Regions from separate parts of the Homo sapiens genome. Here regions 1, 2, 3, 4, 5 and 7 are each linked to region 6. The links are contacts of gene promoters, found by promoter capture Hi-C in blood cells and fetal thymus (Javierre and others, 2016). All regions are on one chromosome and are shown on one strand. The core of a region is centred on a gene start or on the middle of the fragment in contact, and the rest is flanking DNA. Distances in the headings are between cores, read along the strand shown. Region 1 overlaps ARL6IP6 (ARF like GTPase 6 interacting protein 6). Region 2 overlaps FMNL2 (formin like 2). Region 3 overlaps FMNL2 (formin like 2). Region 4 overlaps PRPF40A (pre-mRNA processing factor 40A). Region 5 overlaps ARL6IP6 (ARF like GTPase 6 interacting protein 6). Region 6 holds the start of CACNB4 (calcium voltage-gated channel auxiliary subunit beta 4). Region 7 overlaps PRPF40A (pre-mRNA processing factor 40A).

Region 1 (2,700 bases), core at 55-2,554, 650 kb after region 6:
ATCATAGAGCTTGAACTCTTAACCACTATCAGGGACTACATAAGTACTTCATTGTAGAATTTTTTATTATTGAAAGGAATTCTCTAGAACCAGAAAAAGGTCATACCTTCTATATAGCTTATCTTTCAGGATATGGAAGTAGATCTAAAGAAACGTTCTGGTTTTGCCATTGGGTACTCTATTTTACTACTTATTCTTTCATATGGTCAAATGAAGAGTCACATCTTAACAATGTTGATTTAGCAGGTTAAATTATATCCATTAATTTTCATCATAGATAGGTCTCCTTAATTGACTCTTTGGGACTAAAATATTTATATCCTCTGCATCATTGTTCTAGTTTTAAGTACAGGTAATGTTGACCAATAACCTGTTTTAATAGGTAAAAAACTGTACATAATCTTTTTGAGGTGTTTTTTAGGATTATTTCTTGCTACCTGGGATACTTACAGAAATGTAGAACTGAGACCGAGCGCAGTGGCTCACGCCTGTATCCCAGCACTTTGGGAGTGCTGGGTGGATCACCTGAGGTTAGGAGTTCCAGACCAGCCTGGCCAACATGGTGAAACCCCATCTCTACTAAAAATACAAAAATTAGCTGGGCATGGTGACACGTGTGTTTGTGACCCCAGCTACTTGGAAGGCTGAGGCATGAGAATCGTTTGAACCTGAAAGGCGGAGGTTGCAGTGAGCCAAGATCACACCACTGCACTCCAGACCAGGTGACAGAGCAAGACTCTGTCCAAAAAAAAAAAAAAAGAGAGAGAGAGAGAGAAAGGAAGGGAGGGAGGGCGGAAGGAAGGAAATGGAAGGAAATAGAAGCGACCTTAGGTTCATCTGGTCCAGTTTTTCTCCTGAGAAGCATGAAATCTTAAGTTGGAGTTCCACTTCTGGTTCTTTTCTTTCCCTTTACACAATGTACCTCTTTTGTCTGTCAGTCCATTGCTGTACCTTTTAAAACCTGGGTTAAAGCTTGTATCATTAAGGAAACTTAACCTTGTTAATAATATTGTGTGCTCTGCTCGTTTACATTTTATATCCAGTTAACACAAAAGCATTTTAAAGCAAAGGAATGTTTTAGGAAAATTCATCTGTGCAATGTATTTAAGTACATGGAGAGAATGTCAGCAACTTAGAATTTCTTTGTGAATTTGTTTTAACCTGTCACATTCGTATATGCAAATAATAATTGTAGTAACATCTCCACAAATAGTCATGCCATTTTCAAAAATATATAAGCCTTGTAAATTTTGAAGTAAAATGGAAGGTCTTCAAAGTGAAACATTTCTATGATGTTGCCATGAAACCGTGGGATTTTTTTTCTTGTTTTTTTCTTTTACCTCATTCAGTAATGCAGTTTTATCTACTACCCACTTTTGAAGTTTGGCAGTATTAATAATAAATAATGCTGTAGTTTTACTTGAATGGAAATTTTTTAATTTTTATCTGATCAAGTTTCCCACGTTTGACTTTTTTTTTATTTTTAGTTGACACATAATAATCATATTCATTAGTGGAATACAGAATGAATGATAGTCCCATACAATGTGTAATGATCAAATCAGGCTAATTAGCATATCCATCACTGAAAACATTTATCATTTCTTTGTATTGTGAGCATTCAAAATCTTCTCTTAAAGCTTTCTGAAAATACGCAATAAGTTACTGTTAACCATATTTACCCTAAAGTGCTATAGAACACTAGAAGTCATTCCTCCTATCTGATCGTAATTTTGTATCCGTTAACTAACCTCCTGCTATCCTCTCTCACCCCACCCACTGCTGTTTCTTCCCCGGCTACCCCACCACCCTTCTCAACCTCGAATAACCACAGTTCTACCTTCTACTTCTATGAGCTCATTTTTTTTAAGCTTACACATGTGAGTGAGAACATGTGATATTTATCTTCTTATGCCTGACTTATTTCACTTAATGTCCCCCAGACTCATCCATGTTGCCAGGAATGACAGTATTTCATTTTTTTTTAATGGCTGAATAGTATTCTGTTGTGTATATGTACCACATTTTCTTTATCCATTCATCTGTTGATGGACACTTAGATTGAGTCCATATCTTGACTATTGTGAATGGTGCTGCAGTAAACATGGGGTACACATATCTCTTGAATATACTGATTGTCCTTTCTTTGGGTAAATACCCAGTAGTGGAATTGCTGGATTATATGGTAGTTTCATTTTTAGATTTTTGAGAAACTTCATACTGTTTTCCATAATGGCTATATTAATTTATATTCCCATCACCATGTTAGACTATTACACAGAATTTCAGAAATTATAGTCATTTTGCTTTATTGATCTAAATTACGTAATAAAGGTAAGTTGCTTCTGATCAGGCTTATTCTTCTGGGATTAGGTCCTTTCCTTTCCCTTATCTTTCTCTTCATGAAATTGTAGAAGAACCAATGAATAAAAATTACATATTCTCTATTCAGTCTTTTCAAACCCCTCTACCCTTCTGTTACCATTTGCCTAACAGTGTTTTCCTGCTTCAGAGTATGGAAATAAAAAGTCATGACCTGCAATAATAAGAACCATTTTGGAATCCATAGTAGACTCCATGATGAAACTGAACAAAACTGAAACCAAGCCTGGGCAACATGGCAAAACCGTATCTCTACAAAAAATCAGCCAGGTTTGGTCATGCGTGCCTCTAGTACCAGGGTTACTTTTAGGAATGCCT
Region 2 (2,700 bases), core at 58-2,557, 530 kb after region 6:
TGAATAAGACTAGAGAAAATCCTCCGTGGACTCCCTCCAGACTGTGCAGGCCTAACGTGATTGTCACATGAGAAGGCTGGGCAGTGGGTTGAGTCCCCCGACCAGGGAGCTAGTTATTTAATATGGAGTGTCTAGTCAGTCACAGTTCTGGCCTCCAGCAGATCATGATCAGTTAAGCATGTCTGTTTCAGGTCTTCACAGGCTAGGAAATAAGGGAGGGCCTAAGCTAAATGTAAAAACTGGAGCATAGGAGCCCTGCTGTGTAGGAGGCACCTGCATGCACCTGCTGGCTGTACATCCCCATTTCTCCTCTGGCTTTTTACTTTGAAGAGCACTAAAATTAGAGCCGTCCTGCTTTTAAGGCAAGGAAGGTGGGATAGCAGATGCAGGGCTGGGAGAGTTCATGTAATCAGTGTCCCCCTTATCCATGGGGGCTGTGATCCAAGACCCCCAGTGGATGCCTGAAACCTCAGATAGTACTGAATCCTATATATACACTGTTTTTTTTCTAGAGATGCATATCTGTTATAAAGTTGAATTTATAAATTAGGCACAGTGAGAGATTCACAATAACTAAAAAATAAAATAGGCCAGGCCTGGTGGCTCACACCTGTAATCCCAGCACTTTGGGAGGCTGAGGCGGGAGGATCACCTGAGGTCAGGAGTTTGAGAGCAGCCTGGCCAACATGGCGAAACCCTGTCTCTACTAAAAATAGGAAAATTAGCTGGGCTAATTTTTGGGTCACAGGCACCTGTAATCCCAGCTACTCGGGAGGCTGAGGCAGGAGAATCGCTTGAACGCAGGAGGTGGAGTTTGTAGTGAGCCAAGATTGTGCCACTGCACTCCACCCTGGGCGACAGAACGAGACTCCATCTCAAAAAAAAAAAAAAAAAAAAAAATAGAGCAGTTAAATAAAACACGTTACTTGAACACAAACACTGCAATAGGCGGCAGTTAACCTGATAACCCAGATGGCTACTAAGTGATTAATGGCAGGTAATGATTACAGCGTGGATCCACTTGACAAAGGGGTGATTCTCGGTCTAGGGTGGATGGGAATGGCACGTGCGAGGTTTTATCATGCTGCTCAGAGTGGTGCGCAATTCAAATCTGATGAATTGTTTATTTCTGGAATTTTCCACTTAGTATTTTTGGATACCTGAAACCTGTGGGTTTCCTGAAACCATGGGAAGTAAACCTGTGGGTAAATAGGAACTACTGTAGAGGAAAGCTGCGAATCATTCTTAGGTGCTTAGAGTCATCCCTATAGTTAAGCATGTGCCCTGGTTGGAAAGTCCTTGAGCCAGTTAAGCATCAATGGACTGGTTCACTAAGGAACAAATGGAATCCTGACCCTCCTCTGGGAATGCTCCAGCCTGTTGGGCGACTGTTACTCAGTTAATGACTCTGGGTGGGAAATCGTCACCTGAGGGGTAAGTGTCTTGTTACCCTTTACTCTTGTACCTAACCCACGTTCCCTTTTGTTTTCAGCTCTTAGATACAAAGTCAACAGACAGAAAGCAAACACTGTTGCACTATATATCCAATGTGGTGAAAGAAAAATATCACCAAGTGTCCCTGTTTTATAATGAGCTTCATTATGTGGAAAAAGCTGCTGCAGGTACTTGATTTCAGCTATTACCGTTCGTCTTGGGTATTTAATGCCTTTAATTGTGGTGGAGCCATTCCCTGCTTAAACACTTTTCAGAACCCATTTAAAAAGCCAAGGCTAAGAAGTCAGACACACTGAGCTGGAACACATCGGCCGTGGTGTTGTCCACCCCTGAGAGCAGAAGAGCACATGGGTGTAAAGGTGATCTCTGTGTCCTTTCTGTAAGACACAGGCCACTGAGCGTCATGTCCCTTCCCTCTTTTATTCACTGCCCTTTTTATTCTGCTGCTATTGTATGAAATGTGAGAATGAGAATCTGAGAATCATCACCCAACAAACACTTTTAATTTGATTTTGTGCCATTCTACTTGCTCAAGTGTGGCAGTTGTAAACATTTTGCCTTTGCCTGGACACTAGTTAAATTATTAGCACTTCTTGGTTGCTACTTTGCTAAGACAGTTATACATTTTGTCATTTAAATCATCTGTGACTCTAAGATAGCTGGGATGTACAAGGTAATAGTATCTCCATTATTATAGGTGAGAAAATTGAGATTTTTCGAGGTTAAATGTCTTGCCCAAAGTCACATGAGTAGAAAGTGATAGAAACAGGACTAGAAACCTGGTCTTACTTCTCATGAAGTGTATTATCCAATGTACCATGTTCCCTCAAAAGCATATTCGATTAGCAAAAGGAATGATATGCAGATTGACCTTACAGTCATTTATAGGCTGTGATTCTCAAATTGTGATATCGAACCATAAGCAGCCAGTGTTTATTATAAATTCAGATTCCTGTGGGGTACCTCAGGCATCTGGAATTTTGGAGGGTGAGGCCTTCTCTAACTCAGCCATGGTAAATGGCTGCTGCTTCTGTGTTCTCACTAAAGAACACTCTGGTCTACCCTCTCGTACAAGATTTCTCATACTGTATTACAACAATTTGCATGTCCATTGCAATCTGTGCTCTTCTTTTTTTTTTTTTTTAGACAGGGTCTTGCTCTGTGGCCCATGCTACAGTGCAGTGACATGATCACAGCTCACTGCAGTCCTGACCTCCCAGGCTGAAACGATCCTCCCACCTCAGC
Region 3 (2,700 bases), core at 169-2,668, 550 kb after region 6:
AACTCCTTTTGTCTATAACCAGGCCCTGGCAAAGTGCAAACAGGATGCAACTGCAGTGGCACAAAGGTCACTCAATCCTTTGTTTCCAGTTTCACATTCTACTACTTCTGCGCTAGAGAACGATGCTCTGTGAGAGGCATTCACTAGTATGAATGTGGGGATATAGTGTATAAGACTTATTTGCAGTACTGTGTTCTTCAGCTAGAGGCAGCTTTTTAAATAATGCAAGTGTATTTATTAGCATTAAAATTAACATCTCAGTAATCAGCATTAGCATTTCTGAGGACCATTATTAATTCTGAGAACAGAAATTGGTGCCTTGCAAGGAAGTTTACTAGCTCTATCAACAAGCATTCAAGGTTACATCTGCTAGCAGAGTAGTGTTAGGAACCTGGCCTTACTCTCCTCTGACAATCGCAATTTTTTCTTATTTTTTATAAATTCAAGAAGATACACTTGGCATCGTGTATCGAGGCTAAGTTTTTCATGCATTTCCCAGACTACTTATGGAGAATTGCAGTTTAAGTTGCTGAAAAGTATTAACATGGTATTAAGCTTAAATAATACGTAATGGGACTAGATGGCCCACTAAGCCACTGTTATTTTCCTTCCTCTCTGGCAGGGCACTTGATCCATTCCAAAGTCAAAAACTGGACTGAAGCTAAATTTGTACTTTTCATAATATACATTCTGCTTCTGGCTTATCTTCTTGGTACATCAATATATTAATTGTAAAGTTTATTGTATAGTATTTAACCGCTGAAGTTCCTATTTTATGTTGTGCTTATGTGAACCCCTTGGTGAAGGTCCCTTTTCCTTGGATGTGTAGTTATATGATCTTTTTAAATGTACAGATATTTTGCTATAAAATCGGTGCAGTTTTTTATGGTTTTTACACTTCTCTTTAATTCCCACCTAAGCCTCTGGGTAATATTGTAAATATTGTTTTAAAATGCATCAGCCTATGCTATACAATCTGAATGTTATTTTAACTTATAGTTTTTTTTAATATATATATTTAACTATAAGGACAGTTTAGGGAACAAGTTACCTACCACATTTCACTTTAGTGTACCTATTTACAGAAAGATTAAACTGCCACCTGCGGGCACATTCCCATAAATGTGTACTTTACTTTAAAAAGAACATGCCACGATTTTGTCTTTCTGTGGACTCAACATTCACTTCGATTAAAAATAGCAATTTGACCAAGTTGGACTTCCACTACAAAGCAGCTGTTTTCCAAAGTTCAATGCTGACATATATGTATATTAAAATAATTGCCTATTTATTAATCTACAAATAGACAACGTTGGCATGTTCTTTTCTGTTTGTCTATTAATGGGCCTGCTTCTTAGCAATATTAGAATGTTTTATAAAAGCAATTCATGTTACTTTTCTGGTCTTTTCATGGCATATGAGCAAATAATAAACTATTTACACTACTATTCTGTAATATGTTGTAATCTTTCAATGGTACAATTTAGGGGGTTTTAGCAATATTATGTAGACTTACCTTCTAGAAACAAATATATCTTGCTATTTGAACTCAGAATCCAAATATACTTGGTAAACGTCAGGAAGGATTCCTCCCTATGTGAACTCTTGACCGCTTGCTATATAAAACATAGACAATGGATCTTGGAAGTGAGACTACATCTCCAAAATTGCATTTATAAACATACACCTTCTAGGTAAACAGCACCTTTGTTTGGTGAAATGCCACAACGCCCCCAGCAGCCCCACCAAATGTTACAATTAGGATGTTGTACAAATAAAGATAATAGGCTATATATTAACTGCATAGTTAACCCTGCACCCAATAACCATACCAGTTGGCAAGGCAAACAAGCAGTTTGGCCCCCATTGCACAAACAGTTGTAATAAAACTCCCAGTCATCAAAAGTTTATGTGTAACATTTCATATGTTCTTTTTATGGAAACAAGAAAAATTTTAAATTTTAGAATACCTTTCAAGTGGCTTAAATTTAGAGGCATATATATTATAGTCATTTAAGGAATTATAATTTATATAATTATTGTCACAACTACCACAGCGTACTTTGCATTTGTCACACACAACTGCTTACAGATTAAAGGCAATAATCTTTATTCCTCACAAGAAGCCTGTGAGGTATTTAACACTGTTGTGCACATTGGGAAACTGACTCAGCAAACTGACTTGCCCAGGGTGCAATCTAATAAATGCCTATAATAAAGCCTTAGGTCTTTTGTTCGCAATTCAGTGCACTTTCCACTAAACCAGTTATACAATGTGTTAGAAGCTTTATTTTATGAGAGAAAAAGTCTTGCGATCAGTAAGGATCTCTACTTTTGTTTTACCATCAGACTGGTGCCTAATGGTAAAAGAAAAATCTTTTAATATTCCACAAATTCAGAATGTTTTCAAACTCAACTACAGCAGTTAAGTTCAAATGAGGCAGATAGAGTAACATTCATCTTTCTTTTAAAAGGTATTTACCAATGACTTTGAATTAAATACTCACGTTCCCCACTCCCCATCATCTAACACTGAAATTCACTGCAGTGCCCAGTGGCCATCCTGACTCAACTCTGCTCTCAATAGAATAGGGCTTGATACCCATCACTGACTCTGCTTTGGTTCAACATACTGGAATCTTCTCTGTAGAATAAGGTGATTTTACACTGGAAAATAAATAGATGATACATTTCTTATAC
Region 4 (2,700 bases), core at 181-2,680, 590 kb after region 6:
AAATACAAAAAATTAGCTAGGCGTGGTGGCACACGCCTGTAATTCCAGCTACTCAGGAGGCTGAGGCAGGAGAATCACCTGAACCCGGGAGGCAGAGGTTGCAGTGAGCCAAGATCGCACCATTGCACTCCAGCTTGGGTAACGAGCAAAACTCTGTCTCAAAAAAAAAAAAAAAGAAAAAGCCAAATAATAAACAGAATTGAGGAAAAATACAATCACAGATACAGATTTACAACCAATCAAAACCTAGAGAAAATGATTTCCAAGCAAATCACTTAACCAAAATTGACCCCAGAAAAAGCACATCACACTTGAACATCCCAACAACACAGACACAACAGAAAGATACAAAACCAGATGGTTTCACAGCAGAATGTTATACAACCTTTAAAGAACACAGAATTGCAATGTTACATCATGATTTCAGATTATGGGGAAAAAAAGATGAAATGCTCTCCATTAATTAACAAGAAGCAGAAAAGATACCAGAAGAGCATCATGAATTTAAATTTAACAACATACACACTCTGACCAAGCAGAATTTACTGTAGAAGTGCAAGAGTAGTTCAATATTAGAAAATCTACAGAAGAAATTATTTCCACTATCTAATCAAATGAAAAAAAAAAAAAACACGTGATCCCACTATTAAACTTTGTATGATCAAATCACACCCAGAAAACTAAGTTCACAAGTATTCAAAAAATAAAAAAATAAAAGCAAAATGCTCAAATGAAATAATTTAAGAAATAAAAAACCTAAATGATTAAAAGGCAATCAGTTATCACCCTAAAGCCACTTCCATTAAAATCACAAAAACATGCCTGGAATCACTAAAATTCTAGCAAATATACCACAGCAATAAAATGAAATTACTGGTGTAAATTTTGGAGAAGTAAAGTTCTCTTGCCTTTACTGCTATTTTTACACATATAAAATTCCAGTGAAATCTAGTTACAGTTTTAAAATACTATTTGAATTGATAAGGAAATCTGGTAATGTCATTGGTTACAAGACAAATACACAAAATAATCTGAATAGACGATAACCAGGTTAAAATAAAAATAGGAAAAATACTGTACTCACAATGTAACAACTTTTTCTTTTTTTTTTTTTTGAGAAAGGGTCTCACTCTGTTGCCCAGGCAGGAGTGCAGTGGCAAGATCACAGCTCACTGCAGCCTCAAGCTTCTGGGCTCAAAAGATCCTCCCTCCTGAGCCTCCTGAGTAGCTGGGACTACAGATACACACCACTATGCTGGGCTAATTTTTTATTTTTTGTAGAGACAGGGTCTCACTTTGTTTTCCAGGCTTGTAATACATTTTTACAATGCAAACAGAAACTTTAAAAATAGGGTACCTATTTACCTTACCTAAACAGAATTTAAAACAAAAATCATAATGGAAAAGTGGGAGACTATATACTGGTAAAAAGTAACAGATCAAAAATTATCCTAAACACATATGCATATGGCAATTTAACCTTGAAATTCAGACAGGCAACAGAAAAATACAGGGAGAAACAGATGACTCATCTTTTCTAGTTAAAGATTTTAATTCACTATCTTCTTATGTAGATCCAAGCAGATGAAAGACATGCCAAGATGCAGGAATAACAAAGTAACTTTATATAGCACACAGAATATTCTTAAAAACTAGCCCTGAACAAGAACATACATGAAGCTTTAATAAACTGTAAAGAACTTTACATCTTACAGACTGTACTTTCTGATCATAATGCAATAAGGATAGCTCATAAAAAAAAAAGTTCCCCAAAGATACAATCCATGAAATAATTGATAGGCTGAAAGAACAGATTTAGTTTTCATTAAAGTTAGAAACTTCTGCTCTGTTAAAGATAGTCTGAAGAATGAGAAGATAAGCCACAAACTTGGAGAAAATAGTTGCAAAAGACTTAATATGATAAAAACCTGTTATCTCAAAACTCTACAATAATAAAACAATCTGATTAAAAAATAGGCAAAAGATCCAAAGAAACACTTTCCCAAAGATGTAAGGATGGCAAATAAAAAGATGCTCCACATCACATATAATTAGCCACAAATTAAAGCAAGATACATTACACACCTACTAAAATGGCAAAAGTCCAAAACACTGATATTATCAAATGTTGGTGAAGGTGTGGTATACCAGAAATTCTCATTCATTGCTGTTAGGAATTCAGAGTGGTGCAGCCACTTTGGAAGACAATTTCAAGGTTTCTTAACAAAACTAAACATACTCTTACAACACAATCCAGCAATAGTGCTCCTCGTTATTAATATCTACCCAAATTAGCTGAAAACTTACGTTCACACAGAAAACCTGCACATGGATGCTTTACTCATAATGACCAAATCTTGGGAACAACCAAAACGTTCTTCAGTACATAATGGATCTGGATGTGGTACATCCAGATAATGAGTATTATTCAGTGAGAAAAAGAAATGAAGTATCAAGCCATAAAAAGACAATGGAGGAAACTTAAATGCATATTACTAAGTAAAACAAGCCAATCTGAAAAGGCTACATACTGTATGATTCCAACTATATGAAATTCTTAGAAAAGCAAAACTACGGAGGCAGAAAAACAAACAAACAAACAAACAAAAACAATGGTTGCTGGAGTAGAAGAGGAAGAAATGAATAGGCAGAGCACCAATTTTTAGAGCAATGAAACTATTCTGTGTGATACTGCAAGGG
Region 5 (2,700 bases), core at 145-2,644, 630 kb after region 6:
TATTGTTCTTTCTCAAAACATTCTCCTATTTCATTATTTTAGTATTACTCATCAATTCTCAACTATGGTCGAAAGAATAAAATAATTATGATGGAATTAGGATTCCAGTAAGACTTTCCTAAGACTTTAAGTATTTTTTTCATCTTTTATGAGGTCTGCATCCTAATTTATTTGATACTGTTTGTAAGTGGACAGATGCTAAGGGCAGATGTGTATACAAAGGTGATTTGGAAAAAAAAATGCAAAAAAGAATTATTGGGTTGACCATTTGAATTGTTTGTAATCTAAAAATGAAAATATGTTACAAATTATGGAGCAAAGAAGATTGTTGTCCTCTTTTCGTCAAAATAAGCCATGAAAGGCTTAAAAATTCCTTCAAACATTGTGTTTTAATGACGCAAGTGCAAAAAAAAAAAGCAGGAATAATGACAAGCTGTAACCAATTTGAGATGTATCTGAAATCTGGAAGTGGTATTTACAAGATGGATATGTTGTAGATTCATACATGAAGTTAGTAAGCAATTATTTGCACTCAGGTCGTGCCCATTTTTGGTGTACATGACTTTAGGGAAACTGGGAATTGAAATTCGGATTTGCTGTATTTATTTCTTATGAAAATTTTTAACAAAGTTTTTTTCCTGCTGTCTTTTTGCTCTCTAAATTATTCTTCAAGTGTCATGAAAATAAAGGAAATAAAAAAGCCTCTTTGGACTTATATGATAAAAATATTGATGACTGTTTTCCCTGTTATACTGAAGATTACAAGCTTCAGAGGAGAATATAAATTTAACAGGATTGCCCATGAATTAATTGTTTAAAGCTGGATGATGGGTATATGAGTTTTATATACTTCTCTCAACTTTTTCCTGTGTTTGAAATGATCTGTAATAAAAGTGTTGGGTTTTTTTTTTAATTTTCCCATGTGAATCTAATGATTTACCAATGTTGGGAACTACAGGTGTTATTTATTTTTGAAATTTCAGTCACTTAATCTGTCAGAGGATCACCTTCCTCATCTGTTTCAACAGAAAGATGTAGAAATGCTACAGTCTGGGTTGCAGGTGGTCGGGCGATTGGGTGAAGGCCTTAACCAGTGTAACTGCTATAGCTACCATGCACTCTGCACCCACTATGCTCATGTTGCATTGGCAGGAGAGGAGAGAGCACTTTCCTCTGCTCCTGCACTTGGCTTTGACGTGTAAAGAGACACTTTGCTCTAGGGATTTAAAGACTTGAGCTATCTATAGAATGTGATTTAGAGAGGATACCAAATTATTTAAAATAATGGTCATCCTCTCAAGTTAGAAAACTATAGAATCTAATAAAGTTGAGAACATTTGCTTACATAAACATTTAAAAATTGATGGTTAGTTTCATGCATATGATACATCTAAGTTTTATTAGTAGCCAGCTGGTAATAGTTTTTACAACTTTTAAAGTTAGCTAAGTACAGCCATACACCACATACCATTTTGGTCAACAGTGGTCTGCATATATGCCTGTATGATGGTGGTCCCATAAGATTACAGTGGAGCTGAAAAATTCCTATTTAGTGGCATTGCAACTGTCCTAACTTGGTAGTACAATATATTGCTCACATGTTGGTGTTGATGCTGGTATAAACCAACCTATTACCAATCTAGTTTTATATAACCTTCCAGTCATAAAAAAAAATACAGCACAATTACGTGCAGTACATAACATAATTCTTGATAAACAATTATGTTACTGGTTTATGTATTTACTATGCTTCTTATTGTTTTAGATTATATTACTTCTGCTTAAAAAAAGTTGACTGTAAAACAGCCTCAGGCAGGTCCTTCAGGAGGTATCCCAGAAGAAGGCATTGTTGTCATAGGAGATGACAGTTTCATGCATGTTGTTGCCCTTGAAGACCTTTCAGTGGAAAAAGATGTGACAGTGAAAAACAGTGATATTACCTTGACCCTATGTAGGCCTAGGCTAATGTGTGTGTGTCTTAGATTTCAACAAAGAAGTTTAAAAACTAAAAAATTAGAAATAGAAGCTTATAGAGTAATGGTATAAAGAAAAAACATTTTTGCACAGCTGTACAGTGTCCTTTTGTTTTAAACTGTTAGTAGAAAAGGGTAAAGTTAAATTTTAAAATTTATAAAGTAAGAAAGTTACAGTAAGCTAAGGTTAATTTATTAATGAAGAGAAAAATTTTTTAATTTAGCGTAACCTAAGTGTACAGTGTTTATAATAGTCTATTGTAGTGGACAGTAGTGTCCTTGGCCTTCACCTTCACTCATCAGTCACTCGCTCACTGATTGACCCAGAGCAACTCTTTGTCCTGTAAGCTCCATTCATTGTAAGTACCCTATACAGGTGTACCATATTTTATCTTTTACACTGTATTTTTACTGTACCTTTTCTATATTTAAGTATGTTCAGATACACAAGTACTTATTGTTGTATTACAGTCGCGTGCAGTATTTGGTATAGTAACATGCCGCACAGGTCTGTAGCATTGGAATAATAGGATATAACTGTATAGCTCATAGGTGTGTAGTAGGCTATATACCTAGGTTTTTGTAAGTACGCTCTTGTGATGTACAAACAACAACGAAATCACCTAATGATGCATTTCTCAGAACATATCCCTGTCATCAGTGTATGATTGTATTGTATTTTCATTGTTAGTATCATAAAATGCATTAGTTACGTAAGTAATTTAAT
Region 6 (2,700 bases), core at 190-2,689:
CCTAAGCATTGAGCATTACCAGCGATCCGGAGATCCCGAGCACAGACAATTCGCACTAGAACCACGCAGGAGAAAGCAAGCACTAAGAAAACAAACACGAAGTGAAGGCGCACCCAGACCCGGAGCTGAGTGCTGGCCTTCGTTAATTCCTATTTAACCAGATACAGCTGTCTTTCCCTAACTAAGCGAATCCAAGAAGCGGTCCTAAAGTGAGAGTAAACTTTCTGCTCAGTGTCTTTCTTTTGACCGGAGCTTGACGATCTCTCCCAAGATCCAGACAGATAAGAGTATTCAAATTAGGACAAAACAGAAGAAACCACTAAATCTCAACTCGAATCAAACCAGGTCCCCGGCCCCGAGGGGTCTGGTTACTCTAGGTCGAGTTATACGAATTAAAGACATTTCTCCACGCACCAAAGATACAACCAGACATATTTCCAGCTCTTAAATTCAACGTCCCTGACTTAAGCCAGGTCCCCACCGAACTGTCCACACACATGCACAAACTAACTTCCCGGGGCGGTGCGGAGACGCCGGGACGCGAAGACGTCAAGAGCCCAGGCTAGAGGGAGAGGGACTGAGCCCGAGCACCGGCCGAGGCCGGGAAGAGACGCGCGCGGGCTTGACCCGCAGCTCCCGCACGTGTGGGCCACGGCCGGCTCCAGGACCCCCGCGCCGCGCGCTCGGCCTCCTCCCCATCCTGGTCTCCCGCCTCCTTCTCATACCTGTCTGAGGATGAAGCTGGTCGAAGTGGTGCTGCCATCGGATCTTTTCAACCTGCTCCTCCGGGTTGTGGTGCCTCGGGCCACCTGGACTCGACACACGGGGGCCAGAGAGAAGCCGGTGAGGACCGCAGCGCAGAGCGGGGCGACCACCCCCGGCTGGAGTCCGCCTCCGGACCCGCTCCCTGGGGTCCCCTAGAGCCCGCACCCAAGTCTCCTCCGCGACTCCCAAATACAGCCCCCACCCCCACCCACCCACTGCAAGCCTCGACTGCTGAAAAGATGCTCGAGAAGAGCAGCCCGCAAGCACCCACCACATCCATTAACAAAGACTCTCAGGGTGCGGGGTCCGAGTCCCCGGCATCCGCTGGGGGAGGCTGCGGGCTCCGGAGCGGGAGCGCAGAGACCCGAAGGAGGGTGAGGAGGAGGAGGAAGAGAAGGAGGAGAAAGAGGAGGAGCGGGAGGAGAAAGGGACGTGGAGGAGGGGTGGGGGGAGCGGGGCCGCCGACTCCCGGGACTGGGGCCCCGCACGCCCGGCACGAAGGCGGGGCGCGCTAGGGCGGCGGAGGAGGTGTGAGGAAGGAAGAGGAGGAAGAGGAGAAGGGGGAGGAGGGGGCGGTACCTGCGAGGTGGGGGAGTGCGGCCCGTCCGCGGTCCCGTTCTTGGCGTAGGAGGAGGAGGACATCGTTCAGAGCCGCCGCATGGCCAGCCCGTGTGCGGTGGGCGGAGGGGGCTGGCCCCCGAGGCTGGGCTGCGGACGGAGGGGGAGGGCGCAGGACTTCCCCACCCGGCTCCAGGACCCGCGCCGGCGCCCAGGCTCCCTGCCCGCACTTCGGAGAGCGCGGCACCTTAAAGGGACCGAGGCGCTTCCCCCGCGCTCGCGGCGGGGTCCCGGGGAGGGGGCTTCTCGGAAACTCGCCTACCCGAGCGGATTGGGAGAAGCGCTCTCCCACCTAGCAAGCGCTTTACATCAGAGCTTCCAGAGGATGAAGGGAGGGGGAAATCTGGGATGGGGGTGGCAAGATTAAAATAGTCTGCACAGTTTAAAATGAGACAAAGGTGGCACGGTTCATGAATCAGGACTTGGGGACGGAAGCTGGTGCAGTGTGGCGGGAATGGGAAGAACCGAGCGGGTGTGTGTGTGTGTGTTTGCTGCACTGGAATTTTAAAAGGGCAAGAGCAGAGCCACCTTCCGCGACTTCACTCATCAGCCTAATGTGTAAGGCATGGGGTTTTGTGGCTTGCTTTTCGTCCGTGTTTTTGTATTGCTTTGGCAATTCTGTCCTTAGAGCTGCGAGTCACACACATCCAGGCAGCTGTGAGAAACCCAGCCAGCCTGAGTCTGACGGGAGATGCTGCCCCGCCAAAGACCAGTATGTCCTACGGAGTTTTGAAGGTCATGTTAGACCTGCTAAGAAGCAAGAGTTGGTCACTGTGCCTCCCATTTCTATGCGAATGGATATTTTCAAGGGGGAGAAACTCATCCTTGCAACCATACACAACGTTTGCCATTGGTTTCCTCCTGTAAATACATACAAGAGATTAATTTGTGATCAAATTAAAAGAGAGGGATTGCGGAAAGGAAGAATAAGTGCGAGGTATTGACAGAGGAATAAGAAGAGGGAAGAAAAGTATATGCAAATTCAAAAATAAAGAGACTCCGTTTAAATTAAAATATACTTACTATCTCAAATCGCTAAATCAGCTTGCATTCTAGGACTTTATGTTTATGGACACAACTACCATGCTTGTTTTAATAATTGCTTGGCTTTATTGAGGTCCTGGTTATATCTTACCATCCACCAGACACTTCCTTTCCATTCCTAATCCCTTCACTTAATCCAAACCTCTGTAACAATCTTATAACTAATGTCCTTGCCTCCAGGCTTCCTGGTGCATGTGCACGTATGCACATGCACACATACACACGCAGAGATTTCATTCCATCTACACACTACAGGCAAAACCATTTTCCTAA
Region 7 (2,700 bases), core at 12-2,511, 570 kb after region 6:
TGTCTTAACCACTCTTGTTGTGCTCACCAGCTTCCTCACTTGCTCCCTGAGTATCTAAAATAGTTTGGAAACCATCTTTAGTGATGCTCTAGTACCTTAGAACTTACCTCACTCTATCATACCTGTTTTGCTAGTGTTTCTTACACTTCCAGACTGGTGAGATCTGTCTGATAAAGTCAAAGAACTGTGAGACTGAAATTATTTCAATAGTGGATCCCTAACCTGAAAGAATCACCTGAGGAATATTTTTTTAAAGCAATATGAATTAATATCCAGATATTTGGAATATTAGATGACTGATGTGAATTCAGGTTTGAAAACCACTCTGACAAAACTGTATGGTTCTTATTCTATTTTACTTGCCCCATTTTAGGGGTGAAAAAGCCTTGCCTTTTACATTATGGAAAGCAAGTTGCTTCAAAGATGGCTGAGCTTGATGTTTCTTCTTCCCGTGGCACTAATGACATCTTGGATGACGTAATTTTTTTTTCTTTCTTTCTCTTGGTTGAGGGCGGGGTATGTTTGAGCCCTGTACATTGCAGGATGTTTATCAGCATCTCTCGCCTCTACACACTAGATGCCAGTAGCATGTTCCCCACAAATAGTGACAATCACAAAATCTTTCTTGGTTGAGCACCACTGTCTTAGATCCAAATCGGTATTAATTTTTCTCCATCTTCATCCTTCTTTTTGTTCTCTTATATACTGTTCTCAATGTAACTGTATTCATATATATGCTTGAATTCCCAACTTTCCGAGATGTTGTTTAATGAGACTCACCCTTATTTTTCAATTCTTCCTTCATTCTCTCCCTCTTAACTGGTTTCCTCTTACCCAAGAAAAGCCTTTCTCTTAACTGCAAGCTTATTTGAATTTTACCTTATTGAATATCTTTCAACTATTTGGCAGACCTTTAACTTTCCCTACCATGCCAATGGTCACTAAACACCTTAAATGCCACTCTTAACACCTTAAATGCCACCCTTAACAGTATTCTTTCAGTCCTCATTCCATAAAAATTTCTTAACATGTTACTTTAGGTGGATTCCTTTACCTCAGGGGTTTCTCAAAGACTCATTTGAAGGACTGTTTAAAAAAATCATATTGTTAGGTCCCATTTCCAGAATCTGATTCTGTAAGTCTGACGTGGAGTTTGAGAATATGCATTTTCATAATTTCCCAGGTGATACTGATTCTGTGCATTTGGGGATCATGCTCTATCTTAAAATTCCAAACTCTTGGCTTCTGAGACACTATACATTCCTCTGGTTCTCCTTGAAAGCCTCAGATCAATCCTTTCCAGACAAAACTGACTTCAAATACCAGTTTTAAGACATAAGAAAAACAAGATCATAGTTTCCTTGTCACAGACATGATGAATTTTCTGATTAGCAAATGAACACTAAATAAAAAGCTAGTCATCATCATAATCATAACTACTGAGAAGCTCTCCATTAATGATCTTTTATTGTCTAATGCCAATCTTCTCTTTTAATTCATTTCACTAAAGTCCTAAATAAATCTTTTGAAATAGCACAACAGGAAAATTACCAGGCTGAATATCTGAAAGAATATTAATACAACATACTTAACACCAATTATATTAGTAGTAATCAGAAACTATGCCAGACACATAGCAATCTGATTCAAAGCCACATTTAAGCTTATTTAAGGAACCGTAACAGCCTTCACATCAAAATTTTGCCTCACAGTCTCCATCTTCAATATTGTTTACATTATAGTCTCGTATTTTCTATGACCCAGACCTTATTTTCACTGTATTATTATTTTTTCATATATGTCTCCTTATTTTAAACCACTGCAAAACCTTCATCAGAGACATTAAAGCTTAAGTTGTGGAAGAGTGTATAATAGCCCTCCTAAGAATCTGTCCTCCCCTTCTTTCTGGGCACATGGCTGCTTAGCTAAAAGCTAAGTTTTCTAGCCTCCTTTGTGTAGCTAGTTGTGGCCCTGTGACTAAATTCTCAGCAACTGAACCCAAATGAAGGAGGTGAGCAGAACTTCTACATCATTAGCTTTAAGAAGAACTGTTCTTTCTACTTTTTCCAAGTTAAAATGTGAAATGGGGGCAGCATACCCCTAACTCTGCAGAGAAGGTTAACATGCTAGCGCACTGGTTCTCAAACTATGGTCCAACAGTATCAATATCACCTGGAAATTTAGAAATGAAATTTTCAGACTCCACCCCAGACTTACTAATTCAAATTCTTCAGGTAAGGCTAAACAATTTGTGTTTTTAACCGTTGTAGAACATGATCAAGTCTAGAAAGTCACTAAGATAAAGGAACCTATCAAGAGTAGTAAATGTTAAGTTTTCATTGAATAAGGACTGAAATCTTTCTACTGGCTGTGACGTTTAACACAGTAACCTTTGGCATAGCGCGAATAATTTTTTTTTTTGGAGACAGGATCTCGCTCTTTTGCACAGTCTAGAGTGCAGTGGCACCATCGCAGCTCACTGCAGCCTTGACCTCCTGGGCTCAGGTTCTCCCACCTCAGCCTCCTGAGTAGCTGGGACTACAGGCATGCACCACCACACCCGGCTAATTATTATTATTATTATTTTGTATTTTTAGTAGGGACCGGGTTTCATCGTGTTACCCAGGCTGGTCTTGAACTTCTGGACTCAAGCAGTTGCCAGCCTCAGCCTCTCAAAGTGCTGGGATTATGGGCATGAGC

The links. Contacts are between HindIII fragments. The CHiCAGO score rates a contact against its expected background, and 5 or more counts as called.
Region 1: a contact is called between a fragment that was not itself captured here and the fragment with the promoter of CACNB4 in region 6, in 1 of 17 cell types (total B cells). The highest score is 5.3, in total B cells.
Region 2: a fragment that was not itself captured here is called in contact with the fragment with the promoter of CACNB4 in region 6 in 1 of 17 cell types (M1 macrophages); the score reaches 6.6 in M1 macrophages.
Region 3: a fragment that was not itself captured here is called in contact with the fragment with the promoter of CACNB4 in region 6 in 4 of 17 cell types (neutrophils, monocytes, M2 macrophages and 1 more); the score reaches 8.0 in neutrophils.
Region 4: a fragment that was not itself captured here is called in contact with the fragment with the promoter of CACNB4 in region 6 in 1 of 17 cell types (M0 macrophages); the score reaches 5.1 in M0 macrophages.
Region 5: a fragment that was not itself captured here is called in contact with the fragment with the promoter of CACNB4 in region 6 in 1 of 17 cell types (monocytes); the score reaches 5.1 in monocytes.
Region 7: a fragment that was not itself captured here is called in contact with the fragment with the promoter of CACNB4 in region 6 in 1 of 17 cell types (monocytes); the score reaches 5.1 in monocytes.

What each region holds. Positions count from the first base shown.
Region 1 is chr2:152,749,731-152,752,430 of GRCh38, forward strand. All of the region lies in intron 3 of ARL6IP6 (ARF like GTPase 6 interacting protein 6), which reads left to right. Among named protein-coding and RNA genes, the nearest start is that of ARL6IP6, 32 kb to the left of the region's middle. The HindIII fragment of the contact is 668 bases long and covers 971-1,638 here.
Region 2 is chr2:152,630,516-152,633,215 of GRCh38, forward strand. FMNL2 (formin like 2) reads left to right here. Exons shown (of 26, transcript NM_052905.4): 21 at 1,493-1,622. Among named protein-coding and RNA genes, the nearest start is that of PRPF40A, 86 kb to the right of the region's middle. The HindIII fragment of the contact is 5,734 bases long and covers 1-2,700 here.
Region 3 is chr2:152,648,379-152,651,078 of GRCh38, forward strand. FMNL2 (formin like 2) reads left to right here. Exons shown (of 26, transcript NM_052905.4): 26 at 1-1,448. Among named protein-coding and RNA genes, the nearest start is that of PRPF40A, 68 kb to the right of the region's middle. The HindIII fragment of the contact is 1,730 bases long and covers 554-2,283 here.
Region 4 is chr2:152,684,977-152,687,676 of GRCh38, forward strand. The region is part of intron 5 of PRPF40A (pre-mRNA processing factor 40A); the gene reads right to left. Among named protein-coding and RNA genes, the nearest start is that of PRPF40A, 31 kb to the right of the region's middle. The HindIII fragment of the contact is 495 bases long and covers 1,184-1,678 here.
Region 5 is chr2:152,725,246-152,727,945 of GRCh38, forward strand. All of the region lies in intron 2 of ARL6IP6 (ARF like GTPase 6 interacting protein 6), which reads left to right. Among named protein-coding and RNA genes, the nearest start is that of ARL6IP6, 8.0 kb to the left of the region's middle. The HindIII fragment of the contact is 1,260 bases long and covers 765-2,024 here.
Region 6 is chr2:152,097,605-152,100,304 of GRCh38, forward strand. CACNB4 (calcium voltage-gated channel auxiliary subunit beta 4) reads right to left here and starts at 1,440. Exons shown (of 14, transcript NM_000726.5): 1 at 1,345-1,440; 2 at 726-809. The coding sequence starts at 1,407. RefSeq lists a silencer at 1,349-1,638. The HindIII fragment of the contact is 7,735 bases long and covers 1-2,700 here.
Region 7 is chr2:152,665,581-152,668,280 of GRCh38, forward strand. All of the region lies in intron 16 of PRPF40A (pre-mRNA processing factor 40A), which reads right to left. Among named protein-coding and RNA genes, the nearest start is that of PRPF40A, 51 kb to the right of the region's middle. The HindIII fragment of the contact is 800 bases long and covers 862-1,661 here.